3 separate regions of the Homo sapiens genome follow, and all the other regions are linked to region 1. Evidence: promoter capture Hi-C in 16 types of primary human blood cells and fetal thymus (Javierre and others, 2016). All regions are on one chromosome and are shown on one strand. Each heading gives the region's core, a stretch centred on a gene start or on the middle of the fragment in contact. The rest is flanking DNA. Distances are from core to core; before and after follow the strand shown. Region 1 holds the start of GFRA3 (GDNF family receptor alpha 3). Region 2 overlaps CDC23 (cell division cycle 23). Region 3 overlaps KIF20A (kinesin family member 20A).

Evidence for each region. Contacts are between HindIII fragments. The CHiCAGO score rates a contact against its expected background, and 5 or more counts as called.
Region 2: a contact is called between a fragment that was not itself captured here and the fragment with the promoter of GFRA3 in region 1, in 1 of 17 cell types (megakaryocytes). The highest score is 5.5, in megakaryocytes.
Region 3: a fragment that was not itself captured here is called in contact with the fragment with the promoter of GFRA3 in region 1 in 2 of 17 cell types (megakaryocytes and erythroblasts); the score reaches 7.4 in megakaryocytes.

What each region holds. Positions count from the first base shown.
Region 1 is chr5:138,272,691-138,276,033 of GRCh38, reverse strand. It overlaps GFRA3 (GDNF family receptor alpha 3), which reads left to right and starts at 1,413. Exons shown (of 8, transcript NM_001496.4): 1 at 1,413-1,700. The coding sequence starts at 1,610. RefSeq lists silencers at 1,321-1,410, 1,501-1,690. The HindIII fragment of the contact is 6,195 bases long and covers 1-3,343 here.
Region 2 is chr5:138,206,154-138,209,616 of GRCh38, reverse strand. It overlaps CDC23 (cell division cycle 23), which reads left to right. Exons shown (of 16, transcript NM_004661.4): 3 at 2,933-3,070. Among named protein-coding and RNA genes, the nearest start is that of CDC23, 5.4 kb to the left of the region's middle. The HindIII fragment of the contact is 2,438 bases long and covers 481-2,918 here.
Region 3 is chr5:138,181,204-138,184,996 of GRCh38, reverse strand. It overlaps KIF20A (kinesin family member 20A), which reads right to left. Exons shown (of 19, transcript NM_005733.3): 3 at 3,486-3,575; 4 at 3,269-3,388; 5 at 2,536-2,674; 6 at 2,224-2,411; 7 at 2,007-2,136; 8 at 1,634-1,828; 9 at 1,416-1,527; 10 at 1,241-1,309; 11 at 892-1,035; 12 at 593-758; 13 at 321-485; 14 at 51-190. Among named protein-coding and RNA genes, the nearest start is that of KIF20A, 4.0 kb to the right of the region's middle. The HindIII fragment of the contact is 2,892 bases long and covers 306-3,197 here.

The DNA.
Region 1 (3,343 bases), core at 164-2,663:
GCATATTTCTCTCTGGCAATGGGGTAGAGGGCCTGACATCATGGGGCCTTTAATGGTAGCCCCCCAGCTTCATGTTCCCTCACCTTTCTGGAGAGGAGGGCTTGGGAAAGGCACATGGAGATAGGGTGGAGCTGGGGGAAAACAGGCCTTGTACAAAAGCTGAGTAGCCAGATGTTCACTTTTACAGCTCTTCTGTAAAACTGGCAGGGCAGATATAGATTAAAACGAAGGACAAACTCCATTTAAAGTGCATTACAGCTCAGGAACCAGCACCCCCTGGGCAGGAGAAGGGAGGGAAGGGCACAGAGGCCACATCAGTCTCCTTCCTTATCTAGGGCCACATGTCTCTCTCCTAGCTTTGCCAAGGGTGATTTACACCCCCAGCTGGAATGACTCTCTTTCTGGGCTGATTACATCGGCAAATGCCCCCCAGAGGCCACAGCAGGATGGCCATATTCAGAAGCAGCAGCCAATAAATCTCAGAGGTTTATATTGCGATTCTCAGTACTCCCTGCTGGCCCTCTGCCAGGCTGGCTGTGGAAGTAAGGAGGGGGTCAAGTTAGAGGGTTAGGGGATGAAACCCTCCACTTCCTTTCATCACCCTCTTCTCCTTCTCTCTTTCTATGCGCTGCTTAGTTCTCATTCTTCCAAGCCATTCTGCTTCTGGCTTTATCCTGGGATCTTGTGGGAATCAGGCCCAGGCCCAATAAATACCCTTATCCTTATGGGTAGACGTCCTGTGTTCTGGGCACAGATGTGTTTCTACCTAGTTGTTTAATCCTGATAGAGTAGCTTGCTCTCCGAAAGTCTCATCATGTGAAAAGGATGGGCTCCTAAATGGTCTCTCCAGGCACCTTCCTCAGTGAGCTTTGGTCCAAGGAAATCTCTGCTATTTAGTGGAGAGTTTAATCTTCCATCTTCCCTCACGACACCATCGGGGCTGAATTTTGGAATCTAATGCCCCAGGTCTGCTCCCCCAGCAAAGCCATTCCACCTGTCTGCGACCCATCTTTGCAGCATCTTGAGCTTAATAACCACCCAATCTTACCCTAGAAGACACTTAGGAGAGGAAAAAACGAGATCATAGATGTGCAAATTCTAAGAAAAATACTAGAAATGCAAGTGCCCTTGTGTTGGCTTGTTCAAGTTTTGTTACAAAATCTCTTTTGTGGTGGTGTCTGTTCTTTGATGTGTGGGTGAGTGGGATCCAGAAAGTGAGAAAGGGTGCTTTTCTTGGAGAAATATTTGGTTCTCCTAGATGGCGAGTTTCCAGCGGCAGCTTCCACAATGTCTTGCTAGTCGAACTTGTCAGACAGCAGGTGGGCCGCCTCGGAAAGAGCAACCTCTTCCGCACCAAGCCCGGCGGCTCCCGGGGCGCCGGCCCTCCCCCGCCCCCACCCCCGCGGTCCCTCGGACCAGCGCTGGAGGCGCGTGGTGTGGACGCGCGCTTCGGAGTTGGAGGGCGGCGCCCAGGACCCTGGTGGGAGAGTGTGTGCGTCGCGCTGGAGGGCGGGAGGCGGGGGCGGGAGGTGCCGGTCGAGGGAGCCCCGCTCTCAGAGCTCCAGGGGAGGAGCGAGGGGAGCGCGGAGCCCGGCGCCTACAGCTCGCCATGGTGCGCCCCCTGAACCCGCGACCGCTGCCGCCCGTAGTCCTGATGTTGCTGCTGCTGCTGCCGCCGTCGCCGCTGCCTCTCGCAGCCGGTGAGTGTCAGAGCGCGCACCGGCCGGGGGTACAGTGGGAGGGGGAGGTGAGGTGTAGGCGAGGCCCGGGGCACCTGTCCGGAGAGGGCGCAGCAGCCTCCCGGTGCATCCGAGCCGAACAAGGGGAACTGGAGCAGGAAGCCCAGGGTGCCTGCAAGGGGCTGGGGTCACACCTAACACAGTGTACGAACTGAGATAGACTGAGTGCCAGCAATGGCCTGGCCACCCAAGCATCTCCTCCTCGCCCCTTTTTCCCCCCTCTTCCCTCTTTTGAGGTAGGTCTACACAGTCACAGAACAACCCACAGCCAGGTCACTACCAAGACAGCGTCTCTAAGAGGCGGGGAGAATCAGATCAGAAACAGAGTGTCATTTGCTCCACGTGGGCTTTAACTCTTCCATCTGCTTTAAGGACTGAGGAAGAAACTAGGTACAGGTGAAGAAAAAGAAGTTCGTTAAAACTGACTTGTTTCATAACCTTCTACAATAGCAGGCCTTGCAAGCCGTCTAGCACAGTGGCTTGCCCCTTGGATAATAAATAATCCACAATAGATGTTTTGTAGATGTAGTTCAAGGCCTGGTTTTAGAACCAGGCCACTCCCCCAAGGAAGAACAGCCTGGGATCCGAGATCCCTGGAAGGCCCATGGCCTTCGTGAGTGGTATGGGTGTGTGGAATCTTATTATGCGGCTCCTGCCCAGAGACTGAATGGAGGGACTCCTGAGACAGAGAGACCACCACACTGCCCTGAGACCTCAGTCCACAACGCAGTGCTGTAGAAATGCTGCCTTGAGACAGATATGGAAGGAAGGAGGAAAAACCCTGGTCTGTCCACCTGCCAACATCAGTAAGTCAGGGCAGCAAGACATCACCAGTCTGATTTGACTGCCCAGGAAATTTCACTAATCCTAAAGGTTATGGCTGCATGTCAGGATCAGGGGAAAACATTAAACACCTTTCTCATTAAATGGTTTAATGAAGCAGTGTTGGTGACAGATCTATTTTCCACAGTAATACTTGACAGCAATGACATCTGGTTAAGTAGCCTCATTGAAAATCCATAAAACAGTCATCTAGGAGGTACCATGTAGAGCCAAGTGCTCTTCAAGAGCACAGACCAACAGAGGGCTTTGGGGGTGGAAAATATCATTGCTCAGGGCCTGCTAAAGCCAAGCATATAGGAGACCTCCGATTCATGGGGAAGTGGTGTCATGTACTGAAAATCATTCTGAAGTGGATAGGAGGCTGGAGTCCTGGGTTCTAGCCTTGACTCGGTCTTGACTTGCTACATCCCCTGGTGCACATTACTTTTCTTTGTTCATCCAACTATAAAATGGATACCTGGGTTGTGGGCCTCACTGATGAGAAACAAATGAGGATCTTGTGCCCTGAGGCATAGCCTGATCTGACCCATTCTGTAGCTACTCATTCTCTGATGAGCCAAGAAGCAGAAAACAAAGTTACAAAACCAGGTTGCTAACAAATCAATATGAAATAGACGTGGCAGTGGCTGTATAAATGAGGAGGTGGGGCAAGTAATAGAAAGTGGTATGGACTATAACAAGCTGGAAAAGGCATGACTTGTCAAAAGGGGGCAGTCATTACTCCACCCGTTACATGTGGGCCCGAGTGTTTCCATTTTTCA
Region 2 (3,463 bases), core at 450-2,949, 67 kb after region 1:
CTGACCTTAGGTGATCCACCCACCTCAGCCTCCCAAAGTGCTAGGATTACAGGTGTGAGCCACCACACCCGGCTTGCTTACTCTCAGTGTTTTATAAACATTACCAAAGAAGCATGTCATATAAGGCCTTAAACTCGTTATCCTTTGTCTTGGACTTAAAGCTTTTCTTTTCTTTTCTTTTCTTTTTTTTTTTTTGAGTCTCACTCTGTTGCCCAGGCTGGAGTGCAATGGCATGATCTCCACTTACTGCAACCTCCACCTCCCAGGTTCAAGTGATTCTCCTTCCTCAGCCTCCCAAGTAGCTGGGATTACAGGTGCTCACCACCACACCTGGCTAATTTTTTGTATTTTTAGTAGAGATGGGGTTTCACCATGTTGGCTAGGCTGGTCTTGAACTCTTGACCTCAGGTGATCCACCTGTCTTAGCCTCCCAAAGTGCTGGGATTACAGGCATGAGCCACCACACCTGGCCCTGAAGCTTAGCTTTTCTGAATATAAGATGTGACTAGGACCAATTGTGGCTTCTTGGTTTAAAAACTCAACCTGGCTGAGCATGGTGGCCCATGCCTGTAATCCCAGCACTTTGGGAGGACTGCTTGAGGCCGGGAGTTCCAGACCAGCCTAAGCAACATAGTGAAACTATATCTGTACTAGAAATACATGGTGGTGCGGTGGCACGCACCTGTGGACCCAGTGACTTCAGAGGCTGAGGTGGGAGGAGGATCACTTGAGCCCAGGAGGCTGAGGTTGGAGTGATTTGAGATTGCGCCACTACACTGCAGCCCAGGAGACAGAGTGAGATCCTGTCTCAAAACGAAACAAAACTCAGCCAAATGCTAAATGCCTCTAAATTACATGTAATTTTCAGTAGAACATTCCAGATTCTTCCCATAAGCAAGAATGAAACAGAAAAATTTAAGATTATATAATCCAAATAGTAAAACTTTCTGAATTATAAGGATATATCGACTGTTACGAATATATTTTATGCTGGGCCTATAGTATGCATGTATACATAGTCTTGTATAATCTGAATGCTTTTCATTATAATCCATTTTGTTTTCCTGATGATGCCTTTCTTGATTTTTTTGTCCCATTCAGCAATAACAAGTATTTCTTACTCAAAAAGGCATAATGCAGGTGAAAGAGTTAGGGGGAAAGAAATAAACAAGTGGTGAGTTGATATGAGAAGGGCCTCCAGAATCCTAAATCAAATGGTCGTATTTAGGACATGTTGATCTAATGAAGAAAGCACTGAATATGTTTTGGTTCCAGTTTTGTTCTGGTGATATTTGGGGCAAGAAAGATGAGGAAAATACAGTTATTCAAATTTTAATTAACTCATCCTTAGAATTTGGAGGATTGGGCCGGTGGTGGCTCGTGCCTGTAATCCCAGCACTCTGCTGTGAGTTCAAGGCGGGTGGATCGCTTGAGGTCAGGAGTTCAAGACCAGCCTGGTGAAACTCCGTCTCTACTAAAATACAAAAATTAGCCAGGCATGGTGGCGGGCACCTGTAATCCCAGCTGCTAGGGAGGCCGAGGCAGGAGAATTGCTTGAACCTAGAAGGTGGAGGTTACAGTCAGCCAATATCACACCACTGCATTCCATCCTAGGCGACAGAGCGAGGCTCTGTCTCAAAAAAAAAAAAGAATTTGGGGGATTGAATTTTTGTTTTTTGTTTTTTTTTTGAGACAGAGTCTTGCTACGTCACCAGATTGAAGTGATGTGGCGCGATCTTGGCTCACTGCAGCAAGGCTCAGCCTCCCGAGTAGCTGGGACCCCCGGCACATAGTACCATGCCCAACTATTTTTTTGTATTTTTAGTAGAGGCAGGGTCTTGCCACGTTGCCCAGGCCGGTCCTGAACTCCTGAGTTCAAGCCATCCTCTTGCCCTGGTCTCCCACAGTGCTGGGATTACAGCCACTGCGCTCAGCCAAGGATTGTATGTTTTTAACTTAAATGTGACATTATCTAATTTTTTTTTAACATAGAGAATTACAGCTGTGTTCTGTGCCTTCAGCAATACTAAATTATGACAAAACTTTATTGAAGTACAAAAAATATAAGTAATTGCACGTACATTGCATTTATGTAGGACTGTAAAAGACAGGAGAAGGAATAGAATGCCAGTATTAATGCTGGATATTTTATGTGACTCACATTTTCCTCAAGTCAAATCTGTAAGGTCAGTATTATTGGCTTCATTTTACAGATGAAGAAATGGATGCTAAGAGAAGCTAAGTAACCTCCCTACCAATGTCCTGAAACCAGGAAATCAAAAAGTCAGAATTTGAATCTAGGTCCTTAACACTAAAGCCTATTCAACTTTCTACTACATTTATAGAAACAATACACATTTATGAGTGTTCGTTTAGTTTTTTAAAGTTTTCTTTTTTCTCCATTTTTTTATTTTGAAAAAATTAGAAAGAAAAACTTGGCCGGGTGCGGTCGCTCATACCTGTAATTCCAGCACTTTGGGAAGCCGAGGCAGGCAGATCACTTGAGGCCCTGAGTTTGAGACCAGCCTGGCCAACATGGCGAAACCCCATCACTACTAAAAATACAAAAATTAGCTGGAAGTGGTGGCGCACACCTGTAATCCCAGCTACTCTGGCAGCTGAGGCACAATAATCGCTTGAACCTGGGAGGCAGAGGTTGCAGTGAGCTGAGATTGCGCCACTGCACTCCAGCCTGGGTGACAGAGTGAGGCTCTGTCTCAAAAAAAAAAAAAAAAAAAGAGTTCTATGGGCTTACTTGGTAATAAAATAAATATATAAAATTATATATATATGCATCTACATATTCTAGGTTTTTAGGAGGAAGAAAACAATCCTTTTTCTTTTACATCTTGAAATTAACGAATATACTTTTTAGATTTGAAGTTTTGTTGTCCTATTCCCAACCACTTACATAAGCTTGTTTCTTTTTTAGGAAGATGCCCAGGATATGGATGCCTATACCCTGGCCAAGGCCTACTTTGACGTTAAAGAGTATGATCGGGCAGCACATTTCCTGCATGGCTGCAATAGCAAGAAAGCCTATTTTCTGTATATGTATTCCAGATATCTGGTGAGGGCCATTTTAAAATGTCATTCTGCCTTTAGTGAAACATCCATATTTAGAACCAATGGAAAAGTTAAATCTTTTAAATAGCTTAGCAGTGGGCCACTGAATGAATGTACTTTATACATAGCAATAATAAAAAAAAGATATCATAAATAAAGTTAAAAAGGATGGTAGAGAAGAAAATATTCTTAGGAATGACTAACAGGATAAGTAACAACCTGATTATTTATTTACTTTAGGTTATATAAGGTTCTTCATGCCTGTGAATTAATATTATTGTGTAAGAATTAAGTTAAAAAGCCTGGGCTGACTTTTAAATTTATAAATTCATTTATCATGTTTATAGTATATTTATTGTTTTTCTTTCATGGCTATTAAAAAGTATGACTGTAAAGG
Region 3 (3,793 bases), core at 502-3,001, 91 kb after region 1:
CCCACCCTCTGTCTCAGGTGACAGAGCAAGAGGGGTCACTCAGCTAGTACCTGCACCACTGTTCCCGCTGTTGCATCTGTTCTACCATCTCATTGCAAATTTCATCTCGGAGATGCATCTCCAGCTGTAGCTTTTCCTGTCGTTCCTTCAAAAGCAGTGTCTTCATGGCTTCCACAACTTGTAGGAGCTCCTAGGAGAGACACACATGTCAGAGGTCATCAGATGCTCATGCCCTCAGAAGGCACAAGCCCACCTGGAAGGCACCATGGAAAAATGTGTAGCTACTAAGCTGCTACACTAAAGCTTTCTTGTATTCTCACCTCTTTGCCATACATGGAGATGTCAGCTTCATTTTCAATATCATCATCAAGGCCTGTGTCTGCCTTAGCCCCTTTCTCTAAGCTGGGGGATACCTGAAGACTATGTTCCTTGATGAACGAGTGCAGGGATGGGAATCCCAGTTGCATAGGTGGGGCATGCACAAGCTAGAGGGAAAAAAAATATCTTACTTGACTCCATAAGTAGTCCCTAGGAGCTTTCTTAGAGTTACCAGTTCCAAGTGCGCACACCCATCACACCTCTAGCTTCTCACCTGGCTAGCAATGGCTGAGAACTTGGCCACATGAAGAGTTTCATCATAGGTAGATGCACAGGGATTCACATTGACAATCATGCAGGAACGGCCTCGGCCTGTGAAGAAACCTTGGAACACTCGAGTCAACTTGCTGTCACGGAAGGGAACCAGGTTCTGCTTTGACCTGGCAGAGAATCAGAGATAATAGAGCTGTGAGCAGAACACCAGCCCTTTGGGTATCCTAGCACCATCCCCAGTGGTGTCCAGGAAGTCTCTTAGCAAATTGCAGAGCCCAGGAATTATAGTCAAAAGCTCACCGGTTCTGCTGGTTTTGACGAAGGGCAGCAATACAGCGGCCCAGGGTGTGTAGAGAGGTGTTAATGTTTCCTGCTTCCTTCAACCGTTCACCACTCTTCTGATCTTTGCAGCGCTCTGAGCCAGCCAGATCACAGAGTGACAGCCTAGAATGATGCACAGGATCTGACATAAGGGCCTCACATGTTATGAGCCTTCTGGCCCTTTGTATAATTCTGGAGAGGGGACGGCCCACTAAGAATCTCTGTACCCAAAGAAGGAGAACACATAGTTCCCCTGAGGACCTCCTCCATGCTTTCCCAACTATCATTTATGGCCAAGAAGCCCAAATTTCTAAATGGATAAACTTACTCGCTGATCTTGGGGACTATATCTCCTTCCCCCTGAAGGTGTAGGATCCTGATTGAGAAGATGCTGTGACTGGAAGTTAAGAAAAACAAAAAGTCATTGCACATTTTCCATGACCAGGCAGAGGACTAATGTTTCCTGGAACACAGTGAAGAGTTTATTCTTACAATCTACTCACCTGCGGCTGGAGTTCTGGTTGAGGTGGGTGCTGGCAAAGCTCTGGTTCTTACGACCCACTTTTAGGAGCTTCCAGGCCTCCTCAGCATCTTGCACATGAATCCAGTTGAGATCTGGGGCCAAAGGAGAGGGGTGTAAGATGGGAACATCCAACTCTTTTGCCAGTCTCTCCCCAGTTGCCCTCCAGGGTTCATGCCAGCTTTCCCCATGTTCCTTTACCTTTCACATAGGGATTGCCATTTTGATCCTCGCATAGCCGCAAAGTCTGCCTCTTGCGCTGTTGGCTAGGCGGTTCTAATAGGTCATAAAGCAGTTCGTTGTAGATCTCAAAGAATGAGATCCAGATGGAGAAGCGAATGTTTGCCGGGACAGGTAGTGGGGCAGTGTCTGGCTGTGCCCATCGATGACTTGTTTCTGGAGAAGAAGCCAATGTATAGGGCATCAACCTAGAGCAGTTCACCTCTCTTTTGGCCTGCAGGGGCCTTGGAAGGCAGACCTTAGATTGCAACCTCTGGTCTGTACTCCTGGCAGCTATTAGGAACAGGGAGTGAGTTCCTACTATTTTTTGGCAGAGCCCAGTCACGGTACATACCATCCAGCTGGCTACTGCTGGTACACTGACTGATAGAAGAGAGCCCAGCAATGCCACTGTCGAAGCTGGTGCTGGTACCTATCCGACTTTCGATGTAGACACTCCTCTTCAAGGAAGTGGACAGCTCCTCCTGGAGGGGCACAGGGAGAAGGTAAGCACAAAACTTCCCCGAGATTTGTACCCCCTACCCCCACTGCCATGGATACCAATGCTTTACCTCTTGGAGGCCTCCATTTAGCAGGGACAGCTTCTTCATTTCCTCCTGTCGGATCTGCTTGCTGTCTAGCCAGATTACCTCATTGGAGAGCAAGGGCTTCAGATCAGGTGTTGGATGAAGTTGGCCTTGGAGGCTATTGAAGATCAGCGCCAGGGACCGGGGGAGAATCCCTCCATCCTTGATGGTACCTGGAGGCATATGAAAGATGGACAGCTGAGGCAAGTGCCCTTCTCCCCCTAACTCAGAGTCTCAAAAGGTAAAAACAACACCATTACCAGCCAATCAGGAATCCCGTGAAGGCTTACTACTCACCTTGAATCGTGTGGGTTTTCCCTGAGTTAGTGACTCCATATGTATAGATGAGCCAGTTCTGCCCTTTGAGTACATCCTTTACCATCTCCTTCACAGTTAGGTTGAAGAAGGATGCCTGTCCCACTTCTGGCCCAAAGATCTAGAGAGAGACCCAGTTTTTTAGAGGCCTCTCCTTCATCTCCCACTTGCCTCCTGTGCAGAGCCAGCAGATATATTCCTTCCTGAGTGGTTGGCTCTGGAGACCACTCAAGCAGCTTCTTCCTGCAATGCTGCTGGCTGTTCCCTAAACACTGAGGACTCAAGCACTCTCTGCTAGTCCATCTTTCCACCAAATCAACAAACACTTAAGGAATGCTATGCCCTAGGCCTGATGCTGCACACACAATGGGGCAATATAATGGCCCACAAGTATGGGCTTTGGAGATACATGGATCTAGACTCAGGTCCTAACTCTACTAGTGACTAGCTACATGGCTTCAGCAATATTACATTCATTGAGCCACACTATCCTTGTGAGGAAAATAAGGAAATAATGATAATAACAATAGAATTTTTCAGAACTGATATACATATGTTACTTGACACATTGACTAACACATAACTAGGGCCCTCAAAATTGTAGGTGTGCATATACAAGGAACTCACAGTCAGGAAGAGAAGCTTTCCCTCTAAAGAGGGAATAAAGTTGCCCTTACATGTTGGTCTTTTGTTCACAAACCAGTACCCTCCATACCTGGGAAAAGGTGAACCTGTGTGTGGCTTGGCCAATTCCCCGTTCATTGCTCTTCAGGGCAAAAGAGTCCTTGGGTGCTTGTAGAACAAGGGTCTCCACATTCTCAATACGGACACAACCCTGAGAAGGGAGAAAATACAGTTGTCACAGAAGGCATTCCTGGGAATCTTTTGTACTGCATCATTTCACCTTGAATCCTCCCTTCTCAGACACTTACCTGATCTTCCTGTCGTTCCAACTCTGAAGGTAACAAGGGCCTAACCCTCAAGTATACTTTCACCTTCTCCATACTGTCCTCAGATGGAACCTGTGGCAGAATCCCAGCCCAGAACCACAGATTAATTTCAGCAGTTACCTCTGAGCAAATGGGCAAACAGTAGTTTCTAGGAACTATGATAACACTACCCCATTTCACCTCAAATGTCTCTGTGCAGCTACTCTTTGGTTCCACAATCATTCCAACCCACATGGACATTTTTACTACTTTGTCACCCTTCCCTGTCTCGTCATTATCCTGCAAATGTG